5 separate regions of the Homo sapiens genome follow, and all the other regions are linked to region 4. Evidence: promoter capture Hi-C in 16 types of primary human blood cells and fetal thymus (Javierre and others, 2016). All regions are on one chromosome and are shown on one strand. The core of a region is centred on a gene start or on the middle of the fragment in contact, and the rest is flanking DNA. Distances in the headings are between cores, read along the strand shown.

Evidence for each region. Contacts are between HindIII fragments. The CHiCAGO score rates a contact against its expected background, and 5 or more counts as called.
Region 1: a fragment that was not itself captured here is called in contact with the fragment with the promoter of HEY1 in region 4 in 1 of 17 cell types (fetal thymus); the score reaches 5.7 in fetal thymus.
Region 2: a contact is called between a fragment that was not itself captured here and the fragment with the promoter of HEY1 in region 4, in 1 of 17 cell types (fetal thymus). The highest score is 7.3, in fetal thymus.
Region 3: a contact is called between the fragment with the promoter of PKIA here and the fragment with the promoter of HEY1 in region 4, in 1 of 17 cell types (fetal thymus). The highest score is 5.6, in fetal thymus.
Region 5: a contact is called between a fragment that was not itself captured here and the fragment with the promoter of HEY1 in region 4, in 3 of 17 cell types (activated CD4 T cells, fetal thymus and naive CD8 T cells). The highest score is 6.9, in activated CD4 T cells.

The regions. Positions count from the first base shown.
Region 1 is chr8:80,869,593-80,872,292 of GRCh38, reverse strand. All of the region lies in intron 1 of ZNF704 (zinc finger protein 704), which reads left to right. Among named protein-coding and RNA genes, the nearest start is that of ZNF704, 3.8 kb to the left of the region's middle. The HindIII fragment of the contact is 1,981 bases long and covers 286-2,266 here.
Region 2 is chr8:81,108,146-81,110,845 of GRCh38, reverse strand. The region is part of intron 1 of PAG1 (phosphoprotein membrane anchor with glycosphingolipid microdomains 1); the gene reads left to right. Among named protein-coding and RNA genes, the nearest start is that of PAG1, 2.6 kb to the left of the region's middle. The HindIII fragment of the contact is 420 bases long and covers 1,160-1,579 here.
Region 3 is chr8:78,514,896-78,517,595 of GRCh38, reverse strand. It overlaps PKIA (cAMP-dependent protein kinase inhibitor alpha), which reads right to left and starts at 1,256. Exons shown (of 4, transcript NM_006823.4): 1 at 1,128-1,256. All of the region lies in intron 2 of LOC105375911 (a long non-coding RNA gene), which reads left to right. RefSeq lists an enhancer at 582-691 and a silencer at 1,012-1,311. The HindIII fragment of the contact is 11,771 bases long and covers 1-1,679 here.
Region 4 is chr8:79,766,510-79,769,209 of GRCh38, reverse strand. It overlaps HEY1 (hes related family bHLH transcription factor with YRPW motif 1), which reads left to right and starts at 1,443. Exons shown (of 5, transcript NM_012258.4): 1 at 1,443-1,635; 2 at 1,916-1,991; 3 at 2,118-2,201; 4 at 2,478-2,559. The coding sequence starts at 1,547. It overlaps LINC01607 (long intergenic non-protein coding RNA 1607), which reads right to left and starts at 1,068. Exons shown (of 4, transcript NR_125410.1): 1 at 992-1,068. RefSeq lists silencers at 271-440, 541-900, 941-1,420 and an enhancer at 1,871-1,920. The HindIII fragment of the contact is 6,216 bases long and covers 1-2,700 here.
Region 5 is chr8:81,276,073-81,278,772 of GRCh38, reverse strand. It overlaps LNMICC (lncRNA associated with lymph node metastasis in cervical cancer), which reads left to right. Exons shown (of 2, transcript NR_186603.1): 2 at 1-2,700. Among named protein-coding and RNA genes, the nearest start is that of FABP5, 3.1 kb to the left of the region's middle. The HindIII fragment of the contact is 1,153 bases long and covers 737-1,889 here.

The sequences.
Region 1 (2,700 bases), core at 27-2,526, 1.1 Mb before region 4:
GCAAGTAGTTATTTGGGATGATAGTTTTTGACAGCTGCTTGTTGAAATCCAAACCGTGACCACATTCATTACCATGGTCTGTTGAAAAGCCTGCATTGTATGGCTACAAGATATAGCTGGGTTTGAAATGAAGTCACATGGTGTCAGTGACATTGAATATCAAGAGTAGTGACTCCTTAGCATTTTTGTCCAGAAATACTGAAAGTGTGTCCTGTGGTTTGAATAGTGATTGCACAATTTGTGATAGAAACAATAATAATTTATGCTCTGTGATGAAAACAAGCTTAATATAGGGAAAAAATCAAATCCGTAAAAACAGAATAATGAGTGTGATAATTCACTTGATCAGTAAAGGTTTTTCACATCTTCAAGTAAATTTCCTTTAAATTCTTTCAAAATGGGCTTCATTTTATAACACTCTCATTTGCCCACAACTTCAGAAATTTACACAGAATGTTGGAGTCATTTGAGGTTTATCTTTTAAATTACTCTTTTAAAGACACTGTATCTGAAGAGATTTTCTAATGGAATATCACTAGATAATTTTATTATAATGCATATACGAATGTTAACCTCTTACATATATTCATGCATTCATTTATTCAACAAATATTTATTGAACACCTATTATGTGCTAGCAGCTATTCTAGAACATAGCAGTGGACACCTTCCTGATGCTCACATCTAGTGAGAGGCATCATAGCAACAATCAAATACATAGATGCAGATGTACATGCATAAGCAAGAATAACACTTCAGATTGTGGTGTGTCCTGTGAAGAAAATCATGATATCTTAGAGTTTCAAAGGAAGAAGAGAAAGCTACTGTGGGTGAGATCTCTCTGAGGAGGGAACATTTGACCTGAGATATGAGACATTTCGCATGGGAAGAGCTTTCCAGGCAGAGGGAGTAGCAGTTGCAAGTCTTGAGGTGGAAAGGAGAAAAGGGTGAGTGTGGCTGGAACTTGGTAGGTATGAGATATGTCAAGGAGGCTGGGAGGTGCCTGCAAAGAGAGCCTGGTGGGCCCTTTAAAAGGATAGTGAAATCTTTGAAAAGTTTTAAGCAATAAAGTCTTACAAGGTAATTTGTAGTTTTCAAAAGATCCATGCTGTGTGGAGGACAGTAGTAGAGGCAGGGAGGCCAGTTGGGTGGCTGTCACTACACAGACCAAGGGAGGGAGAGGGCAGCTTGGAGTTAGAGATTGGCAGGAGATGGCAAATTCAGAATCTATTGTGAGGATCAACCTACAAGAACTTGTGGATGGGTTGGTTGATGGGTAATGAAGGAAAGGGAGGAATCCAGGATGAGACCATGATGTAAATGTTGGTTGAAGGTACCATTTACTAAGATTAGGAAAACCGAGAGAACAAAAATCAGGTTTTCTGTTTTGTGCATGTGAATTCTGAGATGACTATTGGACAACCAGGTGGAGGGTGTGGTTAGGCAGATGGTGGTGAGATGGGGAGTGGATAGGAGAGGTCAGGGATAGTGGGAGGAATTTGAGCGACATCAGTATGTTAATGTCATGTAAAGCCTGGGGGCTTTAAGGGAGTGCAGGGGGCCAAGAGAGGAGAGCCTGGGGCCTGATTCTGGGGCACAGCACTATTTAAGTTTGGGTGTAAATGGAGAAGCCAGCAAACACTATTGAGAAGCAGCAGCCAAATAAGTAGAAGGAAAACTAGAAAATCTAAAGTCCAATAAGCCAAGAGAAGAAATAGTTCCAAAAAGTGGGTGGGGAGTAATGAACTGTATTGAATGCTGCTGAGATATAGAATAAGAAAGAGAGAGAGAGATGTTCATTTGGATTAGATAAGATGGAACTTACTAGTGTCCTTGACAAGAGAAGTTTGAGTGATGTGCTTGGAGTAGGCTGAGCAGCCGATGAGAGGTGTGGACAGAGGGACACAGGAAAAACTCTTTTGACAAGTTTTTTGGAAAGGAGAACAAAGAGGAGGAGGAATAGCTGGAAGGCCTATGGCCTAGGTTTTTTTAAAAGATGGGATACAGTAGACCCTAGTGTTATGACTAAAGCATCATGGGAATTATGTGGAAGAGGGGTTATTAGTTTTCTATTGTAGTGTAGTGTAACAAATTACTACAAATTTTTTTTTGCTTTAAAACAGTTCTTAGAGTTTCTGTGGGTTAGGAGTCTAGGCTCAGCTTAACTAGGTTTTCTGTGAAGAGTCTCACAAGGCTGCAATCAGGGTGCTACATGGGTTGAGTTCTCATCTGAAGGCTTGACCAGGGAATAATTAACTTGTAAGCTTACATAGATTGTTGGCAGAATTCATTCCCTTGCATCTGTAGGACTGAGGGTCCTAGCTTCTTGCTGGTTATCAGTTGGAAGTTGTTCTCAGCTTGTAGAGCTCTTCTCCCCCTCCCCTTCCCTACTTACTGCTGTTTTTTGTCACATGGGACTCCTTAGCTTGGCCTCTTACTTCATCAAGCCAGCAAGGAGAATCTTAGAGCCTGCCTGCCAGCAAGATGGAGCCTTGCATAATGCAATGTAGTCAGGAGGAATAGGCCAGAAACTTGGCCATATTCTGTTGGTTAGAAGTAAGTCACAGGTTCCACCCACAACCTAAGGAGAGGGAATTTTACAAGGTTATAAACACCAGGTGGTGAGGATCATTGAGGGGTCATTTAGGGAGGAACCAAAGATGTAGAGAAAAGAAAAAACTACAGGAGGAAAGTCCTTGG
Region 2 (2,700 bases), core at 120-2,619, 1.3 Mb before region 4:
CTGAAAATGCTGACATGATATAGCGGCCTGAAGTCTGAAACAGAGTGCACTCTTCAAATTGGAGTGTCTTCTCCTAATAGGGAGCATGGGAGGAACAACCCACTATATTTTTCAAGGCAGCTCCAGGAATTAGACCCATAAATCATGTTTTAAAATAGCATGCATTGTGCAGAGAGCATGCAGAGGACCGCTTTTTGAACACATCCCCTTTGTTTTAGAAAAAGTGGAAATTGTTCATGCCAGACAATTGTTGAGTCTAAAAGTTAAGTGTACTGATGGGCCTAATTATCTTAATAAACAAAGAGCATGATTTATAGGTAGCTGCAGTGCCCTACTTTGAAGGATAGAAATCTTTAACCTTTCTTTCTCAGCTGTTCCCGAGAGATTCCTTTTAAGCAGAGCTATGGATTATCATCATTGATGTTTAATACCTGAGTTGGTTAAACTTGTAAAAGGAATAGTACTTTGAAGTACCATGCAGTACTGCTGTGTGACTGTTACACAGCGAATATTATAAATAAGAGGAATATTTGGAGTATTGGGTATAGATGTCATTAGTTTAACAAAATAGGTCATATTAAGACTTTCCTGCTAAATATATATACACATACATAAATGTTTAATTTGGACTTGAAATTATTGTTTAAACCAAAGCTCAGGGGTATGTTTTAATGTAAGATTTATTTACATAATCTTTGAAGAGAGAAGTGCATTTATTTATGGTATTTCAGCATGCAGAACAAGATGAACTAGTTATAGGCACCTTATTTAAAGTGTAAAGGGTTTTTTTTTAGGAATACTAAGAAAATACACAAAATGTTATTTCAGAAGTTGAAAAGTTAGTCACATCAACACATTGCGGTTTGTGAGAGCATCCAGTGCTTATCTCTAGAAGAGATTACATCCAAGCATGGAATCTCAAACAGATTGACCCATTAAGCCCTATTGCAGCCTGGTTAGGAGGACAGGCTATGGAGCCAGGCTGCCAGCTCTGGTACCATCTGTTTGAATCTAGGCAAGTAACCCAAAGTCTGTGCCTCAGTGTCTTCATCTGTACAATGGGGATGACAGTAGTAGTACCTACCCCACTGAACAGTAGTGAGAATTAAATGAGTTCATAGACATAGAGCTGTTGGGCCAGTATCTGGCATATTAAGCTTGTTCTGGGAAAAATTTTCATTGTTATGAAAGGAAATGCATCTTTGGACTCTATGGACATTGAATTGCTGCTATGGACATTGAATTGCTGCTGATGAATATTAACAGAAGCAGTTCATGTGTATAATAGGAGAGAAGGTATAAACATTTATTGTGCACTGTCTAGCGATACAGACACCAACTGGTATTTAACACTGTCTTGCTCAATTCCCCACCACAGTCCTTTGAGGTAAGTGGCTTCATCTCTACTTTAGAGATGAGAAAATGGGAGCTCAGTGAGATCAAATAGTAGAAATTGGAGCTGGCATTTAACCCACGTCTGTCTGTGTTGAAACTGTGTTCTTTTTGACCCTGCTGCCTCAACTTGCAAATGAAGTAGTTGCATTATTATCCTCAATTTATACATGAAGAAATCTAAGCTTAAGGATTAAAGTATGCAAAGTGCTTAACAGCACCCACAACAGAAATGATCATAATTATTGTTAAATAACTTGCCCATGCTTCCATACCTCCTAATGTGTGGTAGAGGTGCCAGGTCTTTCAATTTGAAGTGGATTCTGTTGCTTTATTATTTTTCTATTCATGCATTCAGAGAGTCAAAAAAGAAAAATTGGTGTGATGTTAGAGTTTACACTGGAGGGTGGTGGTCTCCATTTGGTTTCCTGCCTGCACGTGTAGCTGCAGCAATCTACACAGTCAAGGAAACCACCACGGCAGCAGTAATCAATCCACAAACAGCGTCATCCCTGGATATGCATTCAGTCCCAGCTGGAGAACTCCCTTGGGCAGAGAGAGGCCTTGCACTTTGCCTCATATTAAACTGCATGTTCAGAAAAAGAAATAATTTATACTTACCATTAAATAAGCATGCTTCCTTCAAGCCTTAGTACCCCATGTCATGGGAAGCAGATTCCGGGGTGCTGTGTGAGCAGTACTTCCTTTAAGGTTTCCATAGCTTGTTAGACTTCTCAGCTGGGTTCCAGAGGTGGGGAATGATTGAGAGGTCATGGCATTTTTGTGGCTGTGTTAGGTTATCACCCAAATACTAGATAGTGTTCTCGCCTTTTGTAAGTCTTATTTCTAGAGATTAAAATCTAATTGCCGTATAGGGCACATAGACCACAGACTGCTCACAGTCTGATTTAATTTAAATCACAGACTGATTTAATGTTTAATGAAATCTCTTAGCTAATGTATGCTAACACTGAATGGTGCTTCAATATAAATGCTCAAAGTTGGCTTTAAAAAAAAAATCAAAACTCTTCGAGAGTTCTACTCTTCCTGTAGGCTGCCTCCATGTGCCTGGGGACACAATACCATAGTTGCAAAGTGCCCAAAAGAGCCCCTGCCATTGACTGAGTCATCTCACATCTCTGAATTATCTTCTGTTTCAACTTGAACCCTCCTTTTCAGAGAACAGATATTCCCTTTTGCTTACTTAATAGTTAATTTCAAGTGTTCCCCTGCTCTGGGTTGGTTATTCTATAGTAAAAGTCTCCCCTGATCACTTTTGTGACTTGAATGAGGTTCATGATTTATTAT
Region 3 (2,700 bases), core at 7-2,506, 1.3 Mb after region 4:
CTGACTGCCTACGAGGAAAACCTCACTGGAAACTCTTTTGAGGTTCTTGAGGAATCCTAGAGGCAAACGGACTCCTCTGCCTTTTGGAAAGGATTTGTCCCAAATCTTAACAGCTAGCTGTCTCAAAATCCAACTGGACTAAAATTGCTTCAAGAAAAACTGGATGGACTGGCATTCACATTTTTACTTCTACCTATGCCTATGCATAGGGAACATCCCTCACACTCCAGTAGATTCTATCTGTCCTCTCTAGCTTTCAAGTAGCCACAGTGACTACAGCGAAGGGAGTTAATGGGATAACATGTTGGTACAGGGCCACAAGCAGGATATTTCATTCCATGCATTTGGGGGAAGGACACAGGTAACAGTATACAGGGAGAATACCGAATAAGAAATCTGTGTGAGGCAATGCCCTTTTTGGGACCTTGACAAAATCAGTCATGGAACCCAGGTGGTGGATAAGAGCTGACGAGAGTTGGTCTGTGAATGGGCACAGCATCTCCGAAAAAGATCAATGAAATGATTGACAGAGAAAATGGCAATTGAAGGAAGAAGCGATGTCAAGTGCTGCTCAACCCAAGCTGAACTCCAGGAGATAAGAGAAGTTTCCCCTCCAGATAGAGGCTCTTTCTAAAGGTTCAGTCTTGAAGCAGGTGTTTTGCCATTGAGAGGGGCACAGACCCATTCTGATAACTGGAAAGGGAGAGGACCAAGGACTACAGGAAGAGGGACGATTTCTGATTACCTCAGGCTGCTGCCAGGGACCTACTGCTCCAAATCCTCAAAATACTCAAGCGAAGGTAAAAGGCACAGAAAGCAAAAGAGTAACTCAAATTATTTTAAATTTTGAGTCCTCTTCACTGTCTACGCGAATCTGGCACTGAAATGGTAGATCACGTTCAAAAGAGTATAGAGGCAAGAACGCCTTCTTTGTTTGCCCAGTAACACTGCTCCTCCAACCTCTGCACTTGGCCGCCCAACATTTCCATCCTAGTTGTTGCTCCTTTTCTCATTGCAGAATGCAGCGGGGTTCTCCCCTTCTTCCCTCCGTGCTGCAAACCCCATTATTAACCAAGCGGAAAGCTCCACGCAGTGCGGCCAGGGCGCACCGGTGCCGGGCTGCTTACCTTCCCCGGACCTAGTCAGCGCAGGTCCCCGCGCACGCCGCCACGGGCCGCAGTCCCGCCGCGCCCGCCGAGTGCTCGGTCAGCTCGCGCCGGCCCGCGCCCCACCTGCCAGCAGCAGCCTCCGCTCCCGCCGCGGAGCTCCGGCTGCATGAAGTCATCCCCGCCCCGGGACGGATCACCACATTCCGCGCCAGCCACGGGGGGAGCGGGGCCGCTCCCGACCCCAGGGAAGGCAGCCTGGAAACGGCGCTCGACGATCGCTGCCCCGCGAGGTTGTGGATTGATTTTCTATTAATGCTTTTACAGCTGCAGCATCGCTGGATTATGGATTGAGAGAGAAGAGCCAGGGGGGCTTTCTCTGCATAGCGTCCTTCCTCCGAGCGCTCCCCCGTCACCCCGGCTGCATGGACTGTTCCATTTGCCCCTGTGGGTTTCCCACCCTCTTCATCTTCCTTATCAGCATTGTTCATTTGGCTGAATTTGAGAGCAGGAATTGTCTTTTAAGATAAACATTCAAGCACTACAAAAACATTTTAAATTGGTAATGAAGCTTTCTAAGCCCTTCATAGCTCTCTCCATCACCCCCGCCCCCGCCAACAGACACACACGCAAACACACACACACACGCACACACGCGCGCACACACACGTATGCACACAGCCAAACCACTCACAATTTTGAAAGCTAGAACCTTTCGCCCTCTCACCTACGTAATAGAACGGGAATCTCCTAAAAGACTGGAGAAGTGGGGCCAACCAGAGAAAGCGCTCAAAGAAACAGTGGGGTGGCCCCATGATTTTGTTGTGTTTATGGTGCACTTGTGCACAGATGTTCCCTCTAACATCTCTTCCTCCTACTTCCTTTGCTCTGGACCCCCTCCCCTCCCTGCCACATAATTGGGCAAACTGTTGTGGTGACAGCTGTAACATTTGGGAATCAAAAAGCAGAGTCTACATTAGCAAATGACTATCTCTCTTTCCCTAAGGATTTATGAAAATTTGCTTTGGGAATGAAATAAGCATGTATTCATATAAGCCCTTTCCTTCTCTTTTTAAATTAACACTAGCTGTTAACAAGACTGTTCTCTCTCCCCCACCCTCCCGTTTTGCTTCTTTCCCAAATCTCTTCAGGTTTGAGGGTTGAATGTTTAAGGAAAAATGGGACTAAATTTGCTCTCTTTGTAGCTGAGCCAGGGTTTCCGCCTAGCTGTTGAGTCATTTTCCAGTCGGGAGGTTCCTTGACACTAGGGTTCTGTGGAATGGAGTTCCCTCTTTTAACTTGCCTTGCTGTTTGAATTGACCGTCACTTGATACAGGCCAGCTTTACACTATGGATTTGTCCAGCAACCTAAACAGTGCAATTGCACAAGGCCAGGGAAGCACCTTTGCTAAATGAGATGTTTCCATCCATCTATCAGTCCCAAAGTTAGGTGATAATGTAGCCAACAGCTTTCCAACAAAACTTAGTTAGAATTCTTGGTCATAGAATATATGCTCTTTGAAAGCTAGAACAGCTTAATTCATCGCTCTGAGACTCACTTTCATAACATTAGCCCGTTAATATTACCATAGAG
Region 4 (2,700 bases), core at 194-2,693:
AAGGGACAGAAGACCGGATTTTCAAATTTAAAACAACCATTCTGTTTCTGGAATCAGAAATCAGTTTCGAGATTTACAACTGTATTTTTTAAAAAATCTGTCTTCTTAGTGGACTCGGGGGGGACTTCACGTGGCACCCAGTACACGCCACGCCAAGCCACCGAAGCCAGAGGTGTGTGTCTGGGGCCAGAGACGTGCATTCCCTCAGCAAGGCCGGCCTCAGACGCAAACGCCAGCACCGCCACCCTGTCGCCCGCTGAGAGGATCTGGCCGCCGGGGGGAGGGGGCGGGGGGGGGGGCAGCGGGGGAACAACAAAAAAATCCCAGCATAATGATTATTCCCAGGGACCGTTGGGTTTTTTTTTCCCCAAGGCGGCCGAAAAAACAAGTGCTCCCCTTCCCCGGAAATGAGATGCACAGGGGTATTCATTCCATTCCGCGGCTGGGAAGCCCCTGCGGAAACGAGTCTGGCTGCATGTGCGGCCTCGGTCCCAGAAATCAAAAAGAGCGTCCCCTGAGCCCACAGCTTGCTCCTCCATGTGACCGGCCCCTGGGCTGGTGGCCACTGTGGACGCGCCCGGCGCCCCCTCTCCCGGCTCCCTGCGGGTTCCGCGGAGCCGCCGGCGCGCAGCCCGGCCAGGTGCACCCGGCACGGCCCCACTAACAGCGCGCGCCTCCAGCCGCCGGGCACTGGCGGCCACGCGGGCGAGATTTACGGTGGCGCTAGGCGGCGGCTTCCGAGGCCGGCCGGCGCCCAGGCTCCGATTACAGGTTCACACTGGGGGCCCGGCCGGCGGCCGCCCAGCCCCCGCCGGCGCGCCCTCGCGCGGCCCGGCTCCCCGCCTGCCCATTCTTCTCCATTCATGCGGACGCCCAGCGCCGCCGCCGCCGCCGCCAGCGCGGCCGCCGCCGTCGCCGTCGCCGGCCGCCCGGATTGGCTGGCGGCCGCGGCGCCGGCACTTTCCCACGGCCCGCGGCGCGTGCGGCTCACCGGAGGCGCTGCAGGCTCGGCCCTGGCGCGCGGCCAGGCCAATCGGGGCGCGCGGGGCGGGGAGGAGCCGCGGCCGCCGGCGGGCTTGTGTCCCGGCCCGGCCTCCCGCGCCTCCCCGCCGCCCGCGCCTCCTCCTTCCCCTGAGTGCAGGCTGGACAGAGCCCCCGCGGAGCCGACGCACCGCCGCCGGGCAGGGGCGGGCGCGGAGGGCGGGGGCGCGGTCCGCTAGAGCCCTCGGCCTCGCTCCCGCCCCTCCCCGGAGCGGCTGCCAATCAGCGGCGCGAGAAACCGGATTGGCCGGGGGGCGGCTGTTGCCCTGGAGTTGCCGCCCCGCCTCTCCGCCCCCTCGCCCGCCTTCCCCACTCCCCCGCCCTCCCCAGGGCCCTGGGAAGGGGCTCAGCGTGGGAAAGGATGGTTGAGTTTTAACCAGAGGCAAAGCGTGAGCGGGATCAGTGTGTGCGGAACGCAAGCAGCCGAGAGCGGAGAGGCGCCGCTGTAGTTAACTCCTCCCTGCCCGCCGCGCCGACCCTCCCCAGGAACCCCCAGGGAGCCAGCATGAAGCGAGCTCACCCCGAGTACAGCTCCTCGGACAGCGAGCTGGACGAGACCATCGAGGTGGAGAAGGAGAGTGCGGACGAGAATGGGTGAGCTGGCGGCGGCGGAGCGGAGCCGAGCCAGAGCGGGAGGCGAGCGCAGGCCTGCCGCGGTGACAGCGGGCTAGGACCCTTGGCGCGCCGGTGCCCTGCGCTGACCTCCGCGCGTCGCAGGCTGGCGGCAGCCTGCGGCCAGGGAACCCCTAGGTGCCTTCCAGCCCAAGTGGCAAAAAAAGTCTGAGTGCGGGGAGGGTGTGGGGGCGACCTCTCAGATCACCTCTCCTCGTTTAACGGCGATTTCAGTTTTTGTTTGTTCTTTTTCTCTTTTCAGAAACTTGAGTTCGGCTCTAGGTTCCATGTCCCCAACTACATCTTCCCAGATTTTGGCCAGAAAAAGACGGAGAGGAGTGAGTCTCTTTACACTCTCCTTTTATTTTTGTTATTGATTAACGGAAATAACCACCTTTTTTTTTGTCTTTGAAATTTACAGTCGTAATGGTAATGCCTTCCTTTGTTTTGCTTGCCTTCTGCAGATAATTGAGAAGCGCCGACGAGACCGGATCAATAACAGTTTGTCTGAGCTGAGAAGGCTGGTACCCAGTGCTTTTGAGAAGCAGGTAATGGAGCAAGTAGGTAAAGCTCTCAGCATAGCTATCTGCACCTTCTGAATCTTCCCCTCATTAATCTCATCCGCCTTGGAAAATAGCTGTGTTGCTTGTGCCTAGATGAATTCGTACACAGATACCAGCGTATTTTGTGAAGACAACTGATTTTGCTTTAGTCCATGCTTTACGATTTACAAAGCATGTATCTTTGTATATATGTTTGCATATTTTAAATTGTTCCCCAAAGGAACTTGTGCCAAATCAATCTTTTGCCATTCTCATCTTTAGGGATCTGCTAAGCTAGAAAAAGCCGAGATCCTGCAGATGACCGTGGATCACCTGAAAATGCTGCATACGGCAGGAGGGAAAGGTACATCTCCTAGACCTAGTGGGGGCTCTGAATGGTTGGCAAAGAGTGAGCAGCGGCTGAAGGCCAGGATTGGTGCAGTAGCTGCCTGATTTTTCTTTGGGGGTGGGGAGAGAACGGTGTGTGGTGTGTGCAGTTCCCTGT
Region 5 (2,700 bases), core at 64-2,563, 1.5 Mb before region 4:
GTGATGAGTGGAAATAATTCTTTTGTGTTAAAACATACAGACAAAACAAAGCTATATGGCCAGAATAATAACCGTTATTGTATCTTGTGGAACAAAAAAGGGCATGGTGATTGCTCTGTTCCTCAGGGAAACACATTGAATGTCTTGTTTTCAGACACCACATCTGATGCATATACAGATGTATGATTGGAGTAGATTATTTCTAATGCCCCTTAAGCTCTACTACTCAGATTCTTTCCTTCTCCAGAGTAATGGTAATGGATTTTAAGCTGTGAAAAAGCAGTTAAGTACTGCCTTCACCCGCTAAGTAAAGGCCTATTCTAGGCTACTTACCTTGCACCCATTATGAGGTGTAAAACCAAAAATGTTGTGAAATCAAATTTCACTGAAGTCTCATATAACTTTATGGAGATGGTTGAGTATTTCTTCTTGGAAAGAAGGAGGAGAATCATCACTTGATTGTGATTAATTACAACATAGGAAACAAGAAACAATAGTTTTATCCTAACCTGTCCTTACGAACATTAGTAACTGTGCTGTTCATTATTTTTAGTAACAGCACATAGGTAATACAGGTGTTATATCATGTTTTCCTTCACACTGGAAGATAATAACACATTATTCTTATGGATGAAAATGACTGAAGAATCAAGAATTACTAGCAACTCTTCTTCCAGTAGCTTAGAAAACTGCCTTTTTCAAGACAGATGCAATTTTACTTAATATCTCTGAAGCTTAGTTTTATCATCTATGAATTTAAGGAGATGAGAATTAATACTAAATGATTTTTTAGGTCCCCTTCAGTTTATGAAGTACTCCTGCAGTAGAAGTTCATGGCCTTGAAAAAGCGTACTCAAAATTACTCTATTTCCACCTAGTGGTGAAACCGTAATATTTCTCTGAGGCTTTACTTGATAAACGTGAGTAGTTTTTCAGCTTCTCATTCTGTAATCACACACAGCTTTGGAGCATATTGTGTCATTTTTATTTAAAGACAACTTCCCAGTTAAAGTTTATGTACATAGATGTGCCTTCCACAAAGTTGATTATTGTATATTAGTTCTTCCTAAGGACAGTTAAGTGTTGGTGGCTTAGCAACAGGCAGTTGGTAGAGAAATGGAGAGTACTACATTAAATTATTGCAGAGAATATTCAAAGTAATCCATTTTCAGGGAACTGAGTCTTCTCTAAGTACATGGCCAGATGATCAAAAAAGGAAAAAAATTAATCACTAAGGTTGGAGAATATGTTTATTTAAACCTAGTGTCTCCCTTAAATTTTATAACTAGATTTTTGACCCTCACTCATCTGGCTTTCCTTGCTATAGACATGCTTTGCATACCCAGCTTCTAGCCACATCTTCCCTAAGAAAATTTCACCTGGAATCAGTTCCAAAAGAAAATCTTAAGAGATAGAGTATGGATCTGCATGTTGTCAGCTACCTAAAGCAGCAAAAATTCCTAGATGAGAATAAAATCAGGGAACCTTGCAGTTTAAGGCACACCTTAAATATTAAATTTTTAATCCTTCAATGCATCCAGCCAAAACAAGAAATTGCAAATAGCTACCATCCATCAATGCAAGGTTTTTTTGGTTTGTTTTTCATAATAAGATTGGTTTTAATTAAAGCACTTATAAAGATGGAGTTATATTTTGAACTTTGTCCTTTTACTTAAAGCAGTTAGAGTCTTACACATCATAACTGCCACGGCTAACCATTAAAATTTTCCAGCTCCTTAAATGATCCATCATAAACTTGTGCTTGCTGAGTTAACTGGACTAGAGGATAGCTGGAGGGAAAATGAGGCATTGCAAAAGTTACAGTAATAAAAAGTGAATGGCTTCAAAATAAGGCAGAGGACATAATGGCTCATTTTATAATAAAAGCTTTCAGTATAAAATTCATACATTTCCCTTACTTATATAGATCTTCCTACTTTCCAGACATGTGTATTATTGTATATTACATTTGTCAATAGCTCATGGCAACAGATACACATAGTTTGGGATAACCCTTTTATACCTCATATGAGCAGTGTTCAAAGGTTTAAAAGCACAACTCCAAAGGGCACAGCTTGAAATGGAGCGGGAGGATGCTAGCAAAGCCACCCCAATAAACACAAAATCTTAGTAAAAGCACTATGTTTACCAGGCAATGCAACTTCAAAACAAATTCCTTAGCAACCCCAACCTCTTCAAGCCCGCTTCTAATCACATTATTACTCCTAAGCCTCCTTATATACAAAATCTTAGGCTGGCCAAGCCCAAACACACAGACACATTAATAATGAGCATCTCTGTCCTTAAAAAATTTCAAACATAAAAAACCTCCAAATGATATGTTCCCACTGGAAGAGGCCAAATTCTTTTCTTGTAGATTACCCTTTTCTATTTTTCATTCCTACCTCCCATGCAGTATTCCTAGATTCTCACACCATTTGATCATTTCTCTATTTTGATATTTATCTATAAGAATTAATGATTTTTTTCAAGTCAAATCTACAAAACCGTGGATTTGCTTGCCTCTAAGCTATTTATCTCAGTGAGTCAGGCCCACTGCTTCCATTTTTCTGGATTAGCTTTGAAGAAGAATCATCAGCACTTAATAACCTACCTAAATCCGACTGAAGATGCTTTCTTGATCCTATCTCTGGTCCTCCTACTTTGGCAGTGGGAAGAGCTACCCTATAACTCCTCAGA